Regions from separate parts of the Homo sapiens genome. Here region 1 is linked to region 2. The links are contacts of gene promoters, found by promoter capture Hi-C in blood cells and fetal thymus (Javierre and others, 2016). All regions are on one chromosome and are shown on one strand. Each heading gives the region's core, a stretch centred on a gene start or on the middle of the fragment in contact. The rest is flanking DNA. Distances are from core to core; before and after follow the strand shown. Region 1 holds the start of CRK (CRK proto-oncogene, adaptor protein). Region 2 holds the start of MIR22HG (MIR22 host gene).

What was found. Contacts are between HindIII fragments. The CHiCAGO score rates a contact against its expected background, and 5 or more counts as called.
Region 1: the fragment with the promoter of CRK here is called in contact with the fragment with the promoter of MIR22HG in region 2 in 1 of 17 cell types (neutrophils); the score reaches 6.1 in neutrophils.

The regions. Positions count from the first base shown.
Region 1 is chr17:1,454,954-1,457,653 of GRCh38, forward strand. CRK (CRK proto-oncogene, adaptor protein) reads right to left here and starts at 1,279. Exons shown (of 3, transcript NM_016823.4): 1 at 924-1,279. The coding sequence starts at 1,164. RefSeq lists an enhancer at 448-1,433 and silencers at 698-827, 938-997, 1,088-1,587. The HindIII fragment of the contact is 20,688 bases long and covers 1-2,700 here.
Region 2 is chr17:1,714,873-1,717,572 of GRCh38, forward strand. MIR22HG (MIR22 host gene) reads right to left here and starts at 1,338. Exons shown (of 3, transcript NR_028505.2): 1 at 1,258-1,338. It also overlaps a transcript of WDR81 not described here. RefSeq lists an enhancer at 1,485-2,126. The HindIII fragment of the contact is 4,707 bases long and covers 1-2,700 here.

The sequences.
Region 1 (2,700 bases), core at 29-2,528, 260 kb before region 2:
CCAATATCCAGGAAGACTCAGCCCGCAGCCCCATCTTACTGAGCAAGGTGACGCCCTGAAGTACACACCGACAATGTTTAAGTCCAAGGAAAATGAAGTTCCAGTCACTTACAGGGAAGGGTCTGTTTCCATTGCCTCACTTCTGGTTTATTTTGTGGAATAAAATGTCTTTCCTCCACTAAACACTTTGAAAACCAGAACTCTCTAACGGCGGACAGTCTTCTGGACGCTTAGATCTCTTGCACATAGCCAGGCATCGCCTTAAACTGGGTTGGGCTGGTCACTGAAGGCTTTCTGCTACCACTATTTCTTCTAGCACTTAGTTCACCACCTTCGTCCTCCACGGGGGAAGAGAACGGTACAAAGATTTTGGAAAAATGCCCAAGAAAGGAAAAAATTGACCGGTTTCCTGAGGGTGTCTCCATCCCTCCCGGCCAGTATGTGGTGACTTCCTACCAAAGGCCACCAGGGGAGCACGGCCAAACCCGGCTCTCCAACACGGCAGGAAACGTTTCCAGCCTAAAAGCCACTTGTAGGATTATCGGATTCATTCTGGGCGCCGCTGCCAAGTGATGCCCCCGCAGTGCCAACATCTCCCTCAGCTCTTTGTCCCCACGTTGCCTTGCCCTGCCCTACCCTTGCGCCTGGCCCGGGAGCCAGCCCCACCCTGGGGCCGAAGCAGTTCCCCTTCCCCGCGGCTGCCCTCCCCAGGCACACCCCGGGGCCTCGGTCCGCGGCTCCTCCTCCCCCACACTCCTGCTCCCCGGGTGAGAGCGAGCCCGAGCAGCCGGCGGGCCCCTGCCACGGTCACCCAGCCCTCTGCCCACGACCCCCGAGGGTCCGCTCTCGAGGACCAGCCAGCCAGGCTGGGAGTTCCGCGGCCCTCACCCCGCCCAGGGCCCGCCGTCCCGTCAGTCCCTCACCGGGCGGAGGCTGGGCGGGCGACGGTGGCACCGGCGGGCGCGGGCCGCTGCTGTTGATGATGTAGTGGGAGACGCGCGAGTTCTCTGAGACGCTGAGCACATAGTCCCCGGGGCTGGTGCTCGAGTCCCGCACCAGGAACACCCCGTGCCGCTGGCCCTGCAGCAGCGCCACCGCCTCCTGCCGACTCAACCTCCCCCAGTACCAGCTACTCCGCTCCTCCGAGTCGAAGTTGCCCGCCATGGCTGCCTCCGCGCCTAAACGCTGGGGTGCCGCCGCCGCGCGCGCCCCTCCGGCCCCCGGCGCCCGCCGCCCAGCGGACCGGCTCCGGTTTCAGCTTCACAGCAGCGCCCGAAATGGCGGCGGCAGCCGCGGGCCTCCCCCTCCGGAAATGACGCGCTCCCTGCCCGAGGGAGGCTGCCGGGAAGGGGCCCGCGGCCCGCCATTGGGAGAAGGGCAAGGCGCCCTCGCGCGCGCACTGCGCATGCGGATTCATGGGCGGTGCCGCCCTTCCCGGGCCCGGGCTGCGGGGGATGGGAGGCGGGGTCTAGGGCCCGAGGGGCGGGGCCTCGCAGCCTCCCGCAGAGACGCGCGCCTGCGCTGCGGACAGAGCGGTGCTTCTCGTCTGGGCCCCGGTTCCTGGACGACCTGGGACTTCTAGGCAGCGACTCCCAGACAGAATTGGAGGAGAAAAGATGCGTGTGGCCCTGGGGCCTGAGTTCTCGGCCAGGCTTCCTGCGATATCAGTCTGTTTCTTTTTTCTTTTTCTTTTTGAGACGGAGTCTTGTTCTGTCGCCCACGCTGGAGTGCAATGGCGCGATCTCGGCTCACTGCTCCCGGGTTCAAGCGATTCTCCTGCGTCAGCCTCCCGAGTAGCTGAGACTACAGGCGTGAGCCACCGCGCCCGGCTGTTTTTTGTATTTTTAGTAGAGACGGGGGTTTCACCATGTCGGCCAGGATGGTCTCAATCTCCTGACCTCAGGTGATCCGCCCGCCTCGGCCTCCCAAAGTGCTGGGATTACAGGCGAGAAACATCGCGCCCGGCCACGTCGGTCCGTTTCTGCTCGTTCCTCTAGCTTCTCCACAGACCAGCTGACGTTCTCATTTTCATTGATTCACCTAGGACATTGTTGTTGACACTCCACTTGCACTGCGGGTGCAAAGGTTATCATGGCTGGGCCCTGCACTCCTCGAACTCACAGACCAGTGAGAGGAACCAGGAAACTGGATGACAAAAGGATGACAAATGCTGACAAACGCTATCATGGGAAACGGACATGAACACAGAGCAGAGCCCCCACAGCCAGTCTATGGAGTAATCCAGGAGGGCTTCCCAGAGGAGGCAGCATGTGTTGACTGCTGAATGACAAATGGGGAAGGACATTCTTTCTTTTTTTTTTTTTTTTTTTTTTGAGATGGAGTCTCGCTCTGTCGCCCAGGCTGGAGTGCCTGGGCGTGATCTCGGCTCACTGCAAGCTCCGCCTCCCGGGTTCACGCCATTCTCCTGCCTCAGCCTCCCGAGTTGCTGGGACTGCAGGCACCCGCCACCACGCCCGGCTAACTTTTTGTATTTTTAGTAGAGATGGGGTTTCACCGTGTTAGCCAGGCTGGTCTCGATCTCCTGACCTTGAGATCCGCCCACCTCGGCCTCCCAAAGTGCTGGGATTACAGGCGTGAGCCACCGCACTCGGCGGGGAAGGACATTCAAAGCAAAGGGAGCAGAGTGTACCAAGCCACGTGAAGTACAGAGTTCTCTTCTCTTTTGAGGCTTTGGGGTCA
Region 2 (2,700 bases), core at 88-2,587:
CTGGGGAGGGCGGGTCCGTGCTGACACTCAGTCCAAGGGCATGGCCCACGCCAGGCTGAGGGGCCAAGGCGGTCTTGCCTTGGAATTTCTATACTCAGAGGGTAAGAAAGATTGGGGGATACGGGGTGCGGTTCAAATTCCGAAACCCTCTTGGGAGGCATGAACTTTGTGTATCTTCCTTCCCCTGGGTGACCAGTCCAACTCCGTCCGACCTTCCTCTGTCTGAGATAGCTCTGTTCAACCCAGAGGACTCAGCAGCTGCTGAGAGTCTGTGCCAAGCAGGTGCCCTTGGCTGCAGGGCGGGGTGGGCCCAGGGCACTGACCCTCTGACCAGCTGCTCCATCAACCCTCTGGCACTCTGACAGCTCCTAGCCCAATCTGACAGCCAGGATGACAGGCCAAAGGAGTTGGAGGCTGGAACCAGGGCCGGAGGGAGGTGGGGGTGACAGCCTCGCCGGAGGCCATGGGGAGGGGCCAAGAGTTGGCCGAGAGGTGGGGAGAGAGGCAGCCCAGTGATGACTAACCCAGGCGCCCCACCCAGCCAGCCGGCTTCCCAGGCAGTCAGGGCCAGGCCTGGGCTAGGGGCCTCACAATCGGACAGGCTGGGGGGAGGTGCAGAGGTGACCTTCTCTCGGCCCAAGACGGCCAGTTAGTCTGGGGAGCGGGGGTTAGAGTTTCCAGGCCCTCCTCTTGCCCTCTTCCCCCCGCCCAACCACGGTGAAACCCTAACCTTTGGGTTGCATAAGGCCCCGGCACCGCCGCCCCCTACTCCTCTCCCCTCCCCCCTTACATAACATCCCCTGGAGAGAACGAGAGGAGGGGCCGGCCCGCCCAGCGACCCCTTCCCTGCCAGGGCGCTGAACTGGCCCTGACCCAGTGAACGCCGGCAGAGGCAAAGCACCTCCTCGCCGCCCGCTCGGGGGGTCCAGACCCTCCCCAGGCTAGATGGCCGGCCCCTGTATCCTCAGACCGGGGGCCGCCGGGTGAGCCGCCCCCGGCCCTCCGGCCCCTCGGCTCTCCCCCCGCCCCCCGCCACTCCGCCAGCCCTTCCGCCACGACTCCCGTCCCAGACTCTTTCCTCGTAGCTCCTGACACACTAACCCGGCCAGTCCAGGCCCCTCTCCCCGAGGCGCCCCTGCCCCCGCCGCCCCTTCTCCTCCCGGAAGGGCTGGGTGTGGCCGCCCGGACCCCACTTTCACCCTCCATCCCGTTACCGCGGCTCCCCGCTGCGTGACCGGGTCGCCAGCTCACACCCACCTGGTGCTGGGTGTGGGGGTTGCTGCACGAGGGGGAGCAAATCACTGCGTCCGCTCCCCACGGCCGGCGGCGCTGTCTCTTCTCGGCACCCAGCACACACCGGCTCCAGGCTCCGATCAGCTGGCGGCGTCGTGACGCACGAGCTGCGAATGCACGGCCCGGGGCCAATCACCGCCCACTGCTGGGCAACGTGGCCCCGCCCACCCGGGGGCCGACGGGGCCTCGCCCTGGTCCCGCCTCTCCGGGCGCCCTGGCTCTGATTGGCAAGGAGGCCACCCTTTTGCCGGGCGGAATTGCACGAAGCCACGCCCACCCACTGAGGAGCCGGCCAATAGACGGACAGGTGTGGCCCAGCCCTCCGCGTCAGCGACCCGCTTAGAAAAGCGCTACGTCAAACGAGAGTCCTAAAGAGCAGGCGAAAGCCACGGCGTCTGCGTTTGCAATGCATGCTGGTCCGTGTAGTTCTCAGCCTGACACCGTCGTTCCCAGAACCCAGCGCGCTCTGTGAGTTGGCATTTTTAAACTGAGCTCGGAATCCAGCCCGGGGAAGTCCTTAAAGGGCGACAGCCCCTCCTTGTTGGAGTCGTGAGTGCTTCTTTTAGACATTCCCCAAACTGACTCGCCGGCCTCTGCGGGACGCTATAGCTCTTTAAGGAAAGGTGGAGCGGACCAAGGAGCAGGAGTGGGCAGAGCGTCAGCCCCCAGGGCAGCAGAGACTGCCGTTGGAGAGCTCTCCAGGGTTTTTGGAGGAGGGAGGGTGCTCGCCTCGCCCAGCCCACTCCTCCTGGGGGCTCTTCCTAACCACAGGAGGCTTTTTTTCTTGGATGTCTCTTCCCAGTCCCAGAAGAGCCCCCAGAGCCTCCCAAGAGGTAGCTTTCTAACAAAAGATTCATAGCACAGTCCTCACCTTAGGGTAGAGGGAGGGCTTCTGGTCAGAAATTAGGGGATGGGCCATGCCAAAGTGCAAAGGGTCAGCAATCGCATCCTCTGATTAACCCCCATTCAGTCCCGCCCTCCAAAGCTCTTCACTGACTCAGGCCTACTTAGGGAAGAGATTCGAAGGTGGAGACCAATGAGCAGGCTGCTCCTTCCCCAGGGGCCAATCAGAGTCTAGATGAGCGGGGGATGGGCAAAAAGTGAAATGAACCCAGTGACTTGGCAAAAGCTGCTGGTCGGCGTTTTTAAAGGGGCAAGCCGGAGACCTGCCCTACCTTATCAATCCCCGCAAGTCCCCCAAAGAGGAACATGTGGACTGAAATCCATGCCTTTTCCTTCAGCTCCAAATAGGGGCTGAGGGTAACTAAGCAGGAATGATGAGGCTGGAGGGTGAGATCCTTCCTTCTGTTAAATACGCACTCCATCAGGTAATTGATAAGGTTCACTTGGAGCTCCAAAATTCTGAGCCTGCGTTCAGGACATTGCGCCTTTAAGGAAACTTCCTGC